Regions from separate parts of the Homo sapiens genome. Here region 1 is linked to region 2. The links are contacts of gene promoters, found by promoter capture Hi-C in blood cells and fetal thymus (Javierre and others, 2016). All regions are on one chromosome and are shown on one strand. The core of a region is centred on a gene start or on the middle of the fragment in contact, and the rest is flanking DNA. Distances in the headings are between cores, read along the strand shown. Region 1 overlaps COMT (catechol-O-methyltransferase). Region 2 holds the start of RTN4R (reticulon 4 receptor).

What was found. Contacts are between HindIII fragments. The CHiCAGO score rates a contact against its expected background, and 5 or more counts as called.
Region 1: a fragment that was not itself captured here is called in contact with the fragment with the promoter of RTN4R in region 2 in 3 of 17 cell types (neutrophils, total B cells and naive B cells); the score reaches 8.1 in neutrophils.

What each region holds. Positions count from the first base shown.
Region 1 is chr22:19,954,110-19,961,050 of GRCh38, reverse strand. All of the region lies in intron 1 of COMT (catechol-O-methyltransferase), which reads right to left. Among named protein-coding and RNA genes, the nearest start is that of MIR4761, 6.2 kb to the left of the region's middle. RefSeq lists a silencer at 5,156-5,323 and enhancers at 5,626-6,277, 6,542-6,941. The HindIII fragment of the contact is 2,768 bases long and covers 3,513-6,280 here.
Region 2 is chr22:20,263,471-20,270,050 of GRCh38, reverse strand. It overlaps RTN4R (reticulon 4 receptor), which reads left to right and starts at 1,733. Exons shown (of 2, transcript NM_023004.6): 1 at 1,733-1,980. The coding sequence starts at 1,959. RefSeq lists silencers at 1,470-1,529, 1,580-1,739, 1,830-1,989 and an enhancer at 2,201-2,889. The HindIII fragment of the contact is 20,492 bases long and covers 1-6,580 here.

The sequences.
Region 1 (6,941 bases), core at 3,647-6,146, 310 kb after region 2:
CCGGCCTCAGAAGAGACAGCAGAAGGCCTCAGAGAGGCCAAGGGACATCCCTACTAGTGTCCCCCAGCCAGGGACCCCAGGGGCAGTCTCCTGGTCCCTGTCCACACTGCCCTGTGGGCTATGTGTGTGTGCACCTGCACCTTGTGAACCACAAGAGGAGGGAACCACTCTGCTCAAGTTGTATTTCCCCTGAAGAGTCCTTAGTACCTTGGAAATGATGTGTAAGACCAAGGGCTAGTTTACCAAGAACATACACAAACCAGTAAGAAAAAGATGATGAGACAGATAGGTCACAGTGGCCAACATGCAGCTCACAGGAAAAGGCCAAAGGCCAGAGCCCCGAGCAGGTGATGGAACCCGGTGCAGGGCTCAGTGACAGTGGGGGTGCCCCTGTCCACAGCTGCAGGAGTGGGAATCGTGCTGCCTTCTGCTGCTACCCTTGGGAAGGGTCCCAGGCCTGCAGGGAAACCCGTGGCCCACTGTGTTTCCCAGCGGGGCAGGACGTGCCATGACCCACAGGGCTCGTGGGGAAAAAACAAGAGATGGTGCTTCCCTAAGGACAGTGTCCTTATTCTGGCAGGAAGATGACAGGGGGAACCATGGTGGAGAGGGACCATGCAGACCTGAAGCAGCCAGAACTTTCCACCTTGCTCCTTTCTTCATGGTGGGGATTTCCTATGACACAGCCTGTTGCTTTGTTTACTATTATTTATCTGCTATGGTTTATCTATAATGACTACTAGTATTTGTGTGGTCAGATAATGGGCCATTTTGTTTACTCTCCATATTTAAAAAACAGTGTTAGAAATATATACCCCAAATTAAAAGGGCTATTCTGAAACAGCAAATTACTTGGTAGACCTTGGAGTCCCAAATTATAAATCCAAATCTGCGTTAATACTTGAATTGTGTAAGAATTTGGCTTTTGAATCTCTAATCTCTAGGTCTGTCTGTTCATAAATCTGCAGGCAGTGTCTCCCAGGGCCTAGTGGGAGGCAGCAGAGGGGAGGAGGCCACAGCAGGGAGGGGCCCGAAGCCCCCTTCCTTTGCCTGGCAGGAGGGACCGGCCCACTCCACTCTGCAGGCTGGGCCTGGCTGGTGCAAGGAGGCACCCAGTGCCCGCCTGTCCCACCTGCCCGCGGCTCTGTGGCCAACTGGGGTCCAATGGCCAAGAGCCATGGGGGCTGGGGAAGTGCTCAAGGCCAAAGGCTCTGCGGCCAACTGGGCCCCAACGGCCAAGAGCCATGGGGGATGGGGAAGTGCTCAAGGCCAAAGGCTCAAAGGCCAACACGCCCAGGCCACAATGCAGTGCCTGGGGGCTACAGTGCCCACGGCCACCTCACAAGGCCCTCCAGCAACCGCCAGAGGAGAAGAGCGCTGGGATTCCCTTGTGAGTGTGAACTGAAGCCCTGAGCAGAGGGACTGGCTGCCCCGGGCCACCAACAGAGCCCTGGCCCCTGCCCACCCCACCTCCCGACAGCTAACCACCTCCGCTCCGCCCCGCCCCAGCCCCGTAGGGCCTCCCCGCCCACCCTCCTCTCTGCTCGCTGGTGTGGGATGGGAGGCCCCAGAAGGGGAGGCCCCGCCCACTGGGCCGGGAGGGACGCGGGACCACATCCAATTGACTTTGGGACCACGCCCACCCAGCCACGGAGGAGGGTGGGATCACGCCCACCTGGCCATCCGAGGGCTGACCCTGCGCTGTCACCGGCCACTGCCCAGTTTCGCAGGACGAAAGAGCAGGCAAGTGAGAAAATGGAGGGCGGGTCCTGAAAAGCCGAGAATCAGGCCTCCCTTTAAAGAAAGCCACGTAGAAACCCACCTGTGCTACTCAAAGCTGCTCGGATGTTCCCAGCCCTGGGATTTTGCCCCGTCAGCCCTCCATGGGGAAAAGGAACAGCTCCTTTAGTTTGGGGTCCCAGGACTCGAGAGTGGGCACGCCAGCTCAGTGTCCGACTCGGGACCCCCTATGATCCGATCGCCCTACTTTGGCTGTGTGGTCTGGGGAGCGTCAAGAGTCCCCCCTTACCTTACAGAGAGGCAAAAAGACAGTTTTGAATGCCCCTGTGGTGGGGGGCGGTGGGGTGCAGGCCGGAGGACCGAGGGGAATTCTCTCTGCTTTTGTGTATGTTTGAAATGTGCTTTTTTTTTGTTTTTTTGAAACAGGGTCTCACTCTGTCGCTCAGCCTGGAGTGCAGTGGCGCGGTCGCAGCTCACTGCAGTCTCGACCTCCTGGGCTCAAGGGATCCTCCTGCCTCAGCCCCCCCAAGTAGCTGGGACGACAGATGTGCACCACCGCACACCCAGCTTTTTTTTTTTTTTTTTTTTGGTAGAGATGGAGTGGAGGTGGGGTCTCGATATTTTGCCCAGGCTAGTCTCCTGAGCTCAAGTGCTCCACCCCCTTGGCCTTCCAAAGTGCTGGGATTACATGCATGAGCCACCGTGCCCAGCTGGCTTTTTTTTTTTTTTTTTTTTAAGGAAAATAACAAGTGTTAGCAAGGATGTGATGAAATGGGAACCCTCTTGCATTGCTGGTGTGAATGCCGTGGAAAACAGTTTGGTAGTTCTTCAAAAAGTTAAACATGTGGTCAGACCTGGTGGCTCATGACTGTAATTCCAGCACTTTGGGAGGTTGGGATGGGAGGATTGCTTGAGCCCAGGAGTCCCATACCAGTCTGGGAAACATGGCAAGACCCCATCTCTACAAAAAACTTAAAAATTAGCCAGGCGTGGTGGTCCGCACGTGTAGTCCCAGATACTTGGGAGGCTGAGGCGGGAGGATCACCTGAGCCCAGGAGGTTGAGGCTGCACAGGGCTGTGATCCTGCCACTGCACTCCAGCCTGGGCAACAGAGCAAGACCCCGTCTCAAAAAAAAAAAAAAAATTAAACATGCTATGCACCCACAAATATTAAAAAATTCTTAAAAACCCACAAAAATTAAAAATAAAAAAAAGTTAAAATAGAACTACCATATGACCCAGCAATTCTACTCCTAGGTGTATACCAAGAATTGAAAACAGGGACTAAACCAGATACTCGTACCCCAATATGCATAGCAACATCATCCACAATGGCCAACAGGTAGAAACAACCCTTCCATCCGTTAGCACCTGAATGGATAATAAAACATGGTAGAGCCATACAATGAGGTATGATTCAGTTATTAAAATGAATAAAGTACAGATGAATTCACGGTTCATCAAAATGGATGAACCTTCTGCACCGGCTGCCTGGCCATCGGCTCGCAAGCTCATGAGACCCCCGTGAGGTCCACATTCCCTCCTCTGTGAAACGGCTGATGGTCTTACCTCTCCAGCACAGTAGAGGGCAGGCATGATCGTGCCCACACAGCACCTGCACATGCTTGCCACATGCACGCCACATGCAGATGCACGTGTGAGGGCATCCTCAGTGCCTCACAGTGCGGCCAGGACACAGGCAGCTGGGCTTGACACCTCTGGCTCTAAAGAGCATGAAGCTTCTGGGCCTCAGTGCCAGGCCTGCCCAAGCTTCTCTGCCCAGCAGTCTGCTGCAGAGCTAGAGAGTCCATCACCTCTGTCACCTGGTCAGTATTCTCTCTCACATTGGACACACCCTAGATGACATTCATCTGCCTTTATTTTATTTCTTTAGAGACAGGGTCCTGTTCAATTGCCCAGGCTGGAGTGCAGTGGCGTGATCAAGGCTCACTGCAGCTGCAGCCTTGAACTCCCAGGCTCAAGGCATCCTCCTGAGTAGCTGGGACCACAGGTGCACACCACTGCATCTGGTCTCATCTTTCTTTAAAAGACAGGAATGCTGGCCGGGCGCGGTGGCTCATGCCTGTAATCCCAGCACTTTGGGAGGCCGGGGCGGGCAGATCACGAGGTCAGGAGATCGAGACCATCCTGGCTAACACAGTGAAACCCTGTCTCTACTAAAAATACAAAAAATTGGCCGGGTGTGGTGGCAGGCACCTGTAGTCCCAGCTACTCGGGAGGCTGAGGCAGGAGAATGGCGTGAACCCCAGAGGCGGAGCTTGCAGTGAGCCGAGATCACGCCACTGCACTCCAGCCTGGGTAACAGAGTGAGACTCCGTCTCAAAAAAAAAAAAAAGACAGGAATGTTTTCCATAAATATACTGCAAGTAACATCAGTGAAATGAGACTCTTAAAAATCCTTTAAAATATGAACTATGGCTGGAACAGTGGCCACACCTGTAATCCCAATACTTTGGGAGGCTGAGGCAGGAGGATCACTTGAGCCCAGGCGTTCAGGACCACTCTGGGCAACATAGTAAGACCCTGTCTCTATAAGAAATTAAAAAATAAACTAATTATATGACCTGGTTTCTAGGCTCATTTTAAAAAATCCGTAAAAGATAACTAGAAAATGGGCCTGGTGTGGTGGCTTACGCCTGTAATCCCAGCACTTTGGGAGGCCAAGGCGGGCAGACCACAAGGTCAGGATTTCGAGATCAGCCTGGCCAATATGGTGAAACCCTGTCTCTACTAAAAATACAAAAATTAGCCAGGCTTGGTGGCAAGCACCTGTTAGTCCCAGCTACTCAGGAGGCTGAGGCAGGAGAATAGCCTGAACCTGGGAGGCAGAGGTTGCAGGGAGCTAAGATCACTCCATTGCACTCCAGCCTGGGTGACAGAGCGAGACTCCGTCTCAAAAAAAAAAAAAAAAAAAAAAAAGAGAGCTCAAGACCATCCTGGCCAACATGGTGAAACCCTGTCTCTGCTAAAAATAACAAAAATTAGCTGGGCGTGGTGGTGTGTGCCTGTAGTCCTGGTTACTCAGGAGGCTGAGGCAGGAGAATCACTTGAACCCGGGAGGCGGTTGCAGTGAGCTGAGATCACACCACTGCACTCCAGCCTGGGCAGCAGAGCGAGACTCCATCTCAAAAAAAAAAAAAAAAAAAAAAAAAGAAAAAAAGAAAAAAAAGAAAGAAAGATAACTAGAAACTGACTTTGTTCTCTTTGCAAAGATCTGGGGTCCATCAGTTTTTCATTCTGCTATCACCTCTGTCAGAAGAGTGATTGACACTTTGGTCTCTATTCACCCACATCCTCCTGCTCAGGAAGGTGTCTTTCTCCTCCTCCTGGGAGAAAGACAGCTACCAGGGGCCACGGAGAGAAAGACTGGGCTGCACAGCAAGCTCAGGAGACCTCAGGTTGTGCTCTGAAATGGCTGTGCATCCTCCGTTCTCCACAGAGGGCCAACATGCGGCTGCAGTGACCCTCGGAAAGGCCACTGGCCATTTGGGGCACACTGTTCTCACTATTCCAGAACACAGAACCAATGCTAACAGCACCCTGCACACTGAGAGCCACTGTGGCTTGGACGTGCCTCATCCTGCCCTCACAGGGCTGGTGGCCCAGTCGGGGAGACAAGCATAGAGCCACAGGCGTGATGACAAACAGGACACAGATGGCAGGAAGGAGGCCAGTTCTAAGCGTTTACACACGGGGCAGCTCTGCTCGGCACACAGGTCCCCCACGGGGGCTGCAGAGGGCCCTACCTGGGGCTTGCTCAACAGGGCTGGAAACCCCCAGCAAAGGCTGGAACTGCTGCAAGAAGCCCTGCCCTTTGGGGCTGATCCGGTGTGATAAAGGGGGACCAGGATTCTGGCAGGGGATTCGACTGCGATCCAGTAATCCAGGGAGAGCCAGTACAGGTGCGTAGAGACAGGCCAGGCAGCACCAGGTAGGCCACACGCTTGGGCAGCGCCTGTGGACAGGCTGAGAGGACACCTGGAGGCCAGCCTGGGAGACCCCACAGGCTGCAGCCAGGCCCCGCGCTCATCTCTGGACCCAGGGGCTGGCCACTCACCTCCATCCAGCCTCTGGGAATCTAAAGGAATGACCAGAAGTTTAATGGCCACAAAATACCCATTGAGCCAGGCATGGTGGTGTGCCTATAGCTGCAGCTACTCAGGAGGCTGAAGTGGGAGGATTGCTTGGGCCCAGGAGTTGGAGGCTGGAGTGAGCCATGATTGCACCATGTCGTCCATCCTGGGCGACAGACACTGTCTCTAAAACAACACCACAATAAAAATGCCATCAAATCCAGATGGGGCCTCGCCTCTTTCTGGCAGCACTCTGGGAGTGTCCCCCTCCTGCCACTGTCTCATAACCCCCAGTACAAGAAGCTGTCATTTCTCCAACCTGCAGAGAGGAAGGAGGAGGCAGAGGACTAGCCTCTCACCCCGGTGACACCTGAGAAGAGGTGAGACAGTGCACCTGCTCTGGGCACCCTGCGAGGGGCCTACCTGCTATTTCTGTAAATGAAGCTTTATCAGAACGCACAATCAACCAGGCACGGTGGCTCACGTCTGTAATCCCAGCATTTTGGGAGGCTGAGGCGGGTGGATCACCTGAGGTCAGGAGTTCAAGAACAGCCTGACCAACATGGTGAAACCCCAGTCTCTATTAAAAATACACAATTAGCCAGACATGGTGATGCATGCCTGTAATCCCAGCTACTTGGGAGGCTGAGGCAGGAGAATCGCTAGAACTCGGGAGGTGGAGGTTGCAGTGAGCCGAGATGGTGCCATTACACTCCAGCCTGGGCAACAAGAGTGGGACTCCATCTCAAAACAAAACAAAACAAAAAACGCACAATTGCACAGACATTGTCCGTGGCTGCTCTCATCCGACCATGGCAGAGGTGAGCAGTTGCAACAAAGACTGCACCCTACATAGGGAAAGGGGCTGGTGTGGAAGGGAAGGGGTCAGAATGGAAGGTCAGATGGCCAGGCAGAGGGCAGCCTCCTGTAGCCTCCCCCGCCTGGTATCCTCAGTGGGGCCAGGCCCCCAGGCTCAGGGGAAGGCTTTTTTTTTTTTTGACTCAATACCTAATAGCTAAAGGGAAGGCTTTCACACGGACTGCACACCTGCTTCAAGCCAGGTGCTGCAGGGACCACGGTGACTTTGTCTTCACAGACACACCAAGA
Region 2 (6,580 bases), core at 484-2,983:
TAAGCAAGCAAGTGTCCTCTCAAGGCCTTTCTGCAAGCACAGAGCAGCCCGAGACTGGAGCCTGGTCCACCCCAGCGCTGTCCTCAGACTGATGGTCAGTGCCACGTGACTCATCTAGGGTCTGATACATCCCTGTGGAGAGAGCTCAGTTCCTAGCCTGGGGGCTGCTGTGTGCAGGGACCCTGGAGAAGAATGCTTGTCTGGGGGTCAGGCCTCAGCCTCCCACTGGCTCTGTGAGCTTCGCCTGAGGTTCCCTATCTGTGCAATGGGTGATGACGTCTTGGTGTGGCTCTGGGAGGACCTGTTGAGCCACCTCAGGGGCTGAGCTGGTGGCACTCGGCAGCCAGCACCCTCTGGGGAGGTGGCAGTGTGTGCACAGCCCACCCCTTCAGGAGGCCAGGGGACAGAGTGGCTGGGGGTGTCTGGGCCCCACCTCACCTTCTGTGTGGCTGGGAATGGCATGCACTCCACAATGCCCTCATAAGCCTAGGCTGGGACAAGGGTGATAGGGATAAAGCAGGCCAAAGTGATGAGGGCCACAGAGCGGCAGCCAGAGGCATGTGGGCAGTGCAGCCTCCACACCAGGCAGAGGGCCCACCCAGCATGGCTCCACCCTGCGAAGCTGCCTGCCACTGGGATCAGATGGGAGCACCAGGGCTCTGGGAGGTCCTCACTTCCTCTGCACAAGGCAGGCAGGTCACCGGCCCTGCGCCCTGCTCATCTCCCTCAGGGCCACCTCCATGGCCAGGGGCAGGCAGAGGGCACAGGGGTGCCCAGTCACCAGGTCTCTCTGCTTCATATCAGTGGACCTGGGCTCTGAGGGGGGCCATCAAGGCATCAGGCTGGCCCACTCCGTCCTTGAGTCAGGGTCCTACAGACTGACACCAGGTGGGCCTGCAAGACCCTCATCTGCATGGTCCTCTCATGCAGGGTGGGCCTGGGGAGGACCCAGCCCGGCTGAGCTGACTCCCAGCACTTCTCCAGGTGCAGGGGCAGCCTGGCAGTTGTCTGAAGACCCCGGGATGCACTTAGGAGCTCATCGGTGAGGCCCGGTAGGTGCCCCGAGCAGAAGATTGAGAAGGGACACCTGCACCCCTGTGTGGTGTGTGCAGGGGCGTCACTGGATTCTCTGGCCCCATGCCTCACACCGCCCGTGGGGGGCTGGCTTGGTAGAGTGGGGGGATACTAAGCAGGTGACCTCGGAGAGCGTCTTCTGGGTTTGGAGCCCCCATTCCGCAGAAGGGAAGAGGTGGGGGACCCCTGCAGGGTTACGGGTAACATCAGGCCTAGGTCCCTTCTCTAGGATGGTGCAGAGAGGGCCACAAAGGCCCAGGAGGGCCCCCAGAACTCTCTTAAGCCCTGAGCCTGTTTCTTACTGAAAAATGGGGGCGATCGTGCTGCAGCAAGGGGCTTCTGTGCAGGGGGCGGGGGATTCATGGGTTTCGTGAGGCCAGGAAGGGAGTGGGTCAGGCAGAGGCCATTCCTAGGCCTCGGGACAAAGCCCTTGCCCGCTTGGGGACCGGGCCAGCCTAGGCCGCCACACCCTCGGGCCCGCGTCCCCGGCCGGCTCCGGCCCGGGCCGCCATCCCCTCCGCCGCCTGCAGGGGCCGCCGCCTCTTCAGGAATGCGCCGCCTTTGTCTGGGACCGCGCGGCGCCGGTGCACCGGGCGGGCTGAGCGCCTCCTGCGGCCCGGCCTGCGCGCCCCGGCCCGCCGCGCCGCCCACGCCCCAACCCCCGCGCCGCCGCCGCCCTCGCCCTGTGCGCCCTGCGCGCCCTGCGCACCCGCGGCCCGAGCCCAGCCAGAGCCGGGCGGAGCGGAGCGCGCCGAGCCTCGTCCCGCGGCCGGGCCGGGGCCGGGCCGTAGCGGCGGCGCCTGGATGCGGACCCGGCCGCGGGGAGACGGGCGCCCGCCCCGAAACGACTTTCAGTCCCCGACGCGCCCCGCCCAACCCCTACGATGAAGAGGGCGTCCGCTGGAGGTGAGTGTCCGCGCTGCACCCGAGCCCGGCCGGCGGCGGGGCGCGGAGGGGGGCGGCTCGCCCCCTCCCCGGAGCCGCAGGGCCCGTCCCGGGCTGCCGAGGCGAGGGAAGCGTAGCCGGGCGGCAGGGAAAGCCACCGCAGTGCCGCGCCAGGCTGGGGCCGCTGGCGCCCCGGCCCCGGGAGGGCGGAGCCGGAGGCGGCAGGAAAAGTTGCCGCTTCCCGGGAAAGTTGACGGCTTCGGCAGGGCCGAGGGTGGCGGTCCGAGGGTCCCCGATGCTGGGCCAAGTCGAGGGCGGGGGCCGTGGGCTGGAAGGGCGGGGCCCGGCCTCGGAGCGCCCCGGCCACCAAGGGGTTAACGAGCGGGTTTTTGCAGAAACGTGGGTACCGAGGGTGGGTGGGGGTGTCGGGCCGCCTCCACCCCAGCCTCACGGTCTGGGCTCAGAACCTCCCGTTTCTCCGAGGTCAGTCCACAGTGGGATGAATGGGGGCGTTGGCGGCAGTAGAGGGCGTGGGGGACAGGGTTGTCCCAGCGCTGCCTCCAGGGCGGGCGGTGAGAGGAGGCAGCAACGCCCGCCATCTGCAGCCCGAGGGACATTGAGAGGCTTGGCTGGGGGAATCAGGGGCGGTGGGGCAATCAGCAACCCCTCCCTAGCAGCCCTCGTGGGACTCCCCCGCCCCACCGGCTGTGAGGTCCCGCGGTGCGGGCAAGGGAGGGTGGGCTCCATGTGAGTTGGGCATGCCCCGCCTGGAGGGTGCTCCCCAGGTGCCCACCCAGGCTGCCCTGCTGATGTCCATGGTGCCGCAGGCTGCACACACGTTTCCTTGCACGTGCACTTGTCTACACGGACTGCACACTTGCACACCTCTGGTGCACATGCAAGCCAACGCCGCCCCAGTGTGCACATGCACAAACACTGGGTGCACACACGGACTCTGAGGGTGCATATCTGTGTCCTCGCCCCCGCCTGCACACCCACGGCCACACATGCATGCACGCGGCATGCCTGCTGTGGTCTCCACGGGTGGCACATGCTGGGGCCCCTTTCGCAATAACCACTCCCGCACCCACATGCTCGTCTGTTGAGTGGGGAGGCCAGGCCCACAGACAGGGGCAAGACATCCTGGGCCCCACCTCTGCCTGCCTGCCTCCGTGTCCTGGGGGTCCCCGCCTCGGGCTTGTGTGCGTGTGTGTAACTTGGTATGCATCTGCACGTGTGTCTGTGCGCGTGATCATGTGTGCCTGCGGGCACATAGGCATGTCTCTTTGCCTCCAGGGTGTGGGTGCCCCTTGTGTGCCTAGACAGGCTGTGGCCTAATCTGGAGCAGAGGCCCTGGAATGTGTGTTGGGGGCTCGTTGAATACCGCAAAGCCCAGGGTGTGAGGGGCAGGGTCTCCCAGCCACTCCCTACCCACCAGGGCTGAGGCAGATAGATGATGGTGGGCTGGAACCTGTCTGGGCAGGGAAGACCCATTTCAGGCCATGAGGTCAACACTGTGACCAACAGGCCAGACCCTGGGCACCCTTGGTGGCCGCTGCAGCTTGGCTGACTGGAGCACGTGACCCAGCGTGACTGCAGAGGCCCCGCCTCCAGTGCCTCAGTTTCTCCATGGTGAGGACCTTCTTGGTGAGGGGTTCTGTGGTGGGCTCCCCTACCTCCGGTGTTGTGTAGGGTGCTGAGCAGATGGATGCCATGCTGCATGATGGGCAAGGGTGGCCCACTAGCACTGTGGCAAGGGCCCTGGGCTGGGGCTTGGATTGGCAGGCCACACCTCCTGCTCCCCTGGCCACCACCAGAGGCTCATCTATAGAGTGGGGACCAGCAGGTTATCCTTGTAGGTTGTGTGAGGGTGAAACATACTAGCAGAGGGGCAGCTGAAGCAGTGGGGCTGGCCAGTCTCTTTTTCTAAGCCTCAGTCTTCCCATCTATAAAGGGGGTACTGTTCCCTGTTCTTCTCTACTGAGGTGAGGAGGAAGTGAGCTCCCATGCCGGGGGTGGGAATGGGTGGCCATCAGCACCTAGACGCCACCTGGCAGAGGGGCACGTGCAGGGCCTGCCGTGGCAGAACCGTGACCTGGATTTGGGTCCTGGCTCAGCCACCTGCTGGCGGTGTGACCTTGGGTGTGACAGGTCGCCTCTCTGCCTCAGTCTTCCTCACCTGCACCATGGGCCAGTGGTCAGGGATTATCGGGGCACTTCCAGGCTGAGGCTGGGCGGAATTGGCCCGGCTTTCCCTGTGGAGTTCTGACTCTGGTGCTTCTGCCTCAGAATGCCCACAACACCTCCCCACACCCCCACTCAGCAGAGTCCTCCTGGGACCTTTGCACTGCCAGCTGGCCCCTCACCCCATCCATGTGCAGAAGGGACAATAAAAGCCCCTAGTCAGGCAACTCGGGCCACAGGTGAGTGGAGAGGGGACAGGGCAGGGATGCTGCCCAGCTTGGGAGACCCTCCCATAGTACCTTCACTCCCTCCCTGCCCTCCCCCTGTTCCTCACCTGGGGGTCTGTGGAACCCCTGAGCCTCAGTTTCCCCGTGCCAGGGTCCTTCTGCTGGGACTGGCAGAAACGTAGGTTTGCATGGAGTGAGAAGCAGGGGAGAGGCTGAGGGAGGGCCTGGCCCAGCACGTCTCTGAAAGCCAGAGGGCTTGTGGAGGGTCCATGGAGGACACCCCTACAGGGGCTGGGGCCCTGGAAGGTGGGGGAAGGTCCTGCTGTCCTGGGAGGCTGGGAACTGGCCCACAGCCTGTGGAGGGGCCAGGGTTTGTTTGCTGTTGCTGTGAGTGACAGGCAGGCTGTGAGGGCCAGGGTGTGTGGGACCGTGCTCTCCCCCTCCCTCTGCCCAGGAACAGTGCAGCCTTGTAGCATTGCCCTCTCCTCGTCCCTGCCCCAGCCTTGAATTCATGCTTTGTGGCACGGACGGCCCTGTGCAGCCGGTGCAACACCAGGAGGGTCCAGCTGGTGAGGACAGGACGGGCGGGAGGCAGAGGAGCCCTCCTGCTGTCCTGGGCCTGTGGCCCGGAACCTCTCACCGGGAGCCTTGGTCTGTGCACCTGGGAAAGGGGTCAAGAGCAGGAAGCACACGGGGAGTTTCAGGATGACCTGGAAATGAACAAATGCGTGTGTGAGCCAGGCGCCCCGCCCGGCCCTGGCACAGGGTTAGTGAGGGCTCCTGACACTTGGCTACTATCTGATCAATGAGGTTCATGCCGTCCCGCCCCCATTCTGGTGAGCCTGACCTCTGACCCCCAGGCTGGTCTGCCTGACCCTCTGCAGCCACCCAGGGCCTGGGCCTCAGGGTCTGCGGGAGCTGGCTTGGCCGCCTGCTGCCTCTGCAGCTGTGCAGATGCCCTCTCGGGTCCCTCTCTGCACCCCTCAGTGTCCCTGCTCTGCGGTCTGGCTGCACCCAGGCCAAGGTCACAGGCACCCTCCTCAAAGCCAGATCCCAGATGCTGCATTTGCCCCAACCATCCATTCACTTTCTCATTTGTTCATTCATTCACTCGTTCGTTCCTAGCCTGTCAGATTCTCTTCTGAGCCAGGCAAATCAAGGGGTGTGATCCTTGGCATCGGGCATCTCTAGGATTAAATGCTTTAAAGGATAGGAGGTCACAGAGTGGCCCAGGGAAGCCCGATCGGAGCGGCGGGCATGCTGCCCCACCCCACAAATCTCCCTGCACTGTCCCTGGGGCCCAGCTGGGCTCCCCCACACCAGGTGTTCTGTGCTGCCGTTTCTTCTTTTATCGCTGTATTTTAAACATTTTGCACATCGGGAACTATTCTTGTGCATCATGGGTTTTCTGGTGTGTGTGGAATCCCTTCCTGAGAATGCACCATCATTTATTTATCCAAACCTGCACCGGCCTCCTGCACTGCCTGCAGCCGTGGAGCTGGACACTGGGAGATGCAGCTCTGCACACCCACCCCACCATGTCCTCAGCTGGCACCCACCAGGTCTGGGGTCTGGTCACGTGCCTCTCCCCCGATGCTTGGGCTGATTTCAGGGGACTCGGCAGCAGGGCCAGATCCTGCCCCTCCTAGCCCACTGAGGCTTTGACAACCGTGGGCTGGCCGGGTAGGTGATGGTGAGTGAGTAGAGTCTGGGCAGCCATTTGTGCAGTGGGTGCCTTGGGGCCACCTCTCCCCTGCCTCTTTCATACAGCCTCTGGTCTTGCCTGCTATGGCCTGCGGGGCCTCTTCTGCGGGGCAGCAGGGCAGCGGGGCATGGGGTGATGCTGACACTGTTCCGCAGCTGTGTCCTGTCCGATGGAGGCAACCCACAGCAGCCAGACCAGGAGGTGGAGAAGAAAGGCAGGGCAGTTGGCACACCTCGAGAGTGGCCTTAGGAGGGGCTGAGTGGGCACAGGCCAGGGTCCCCATGTAGGTCTACACAGGCCTGGCAGGTGGAAAGCCCCATTCAGGGCCCTGGCACATGGAGCTGGGCTGATCTGGGAGTGAGGTGTCGGGTGCTGACCCAGCCTCACTCAGAGCAGCCTGCCCTGGGCCCCCGGGTGCCTCTTGGCTCTCCAGTCAGCACCCTGGCATTCTTAGCTGGCTGTCACGGGTCACGGTCCATGGAGTTGAAATTCTTTGGAATGTTGG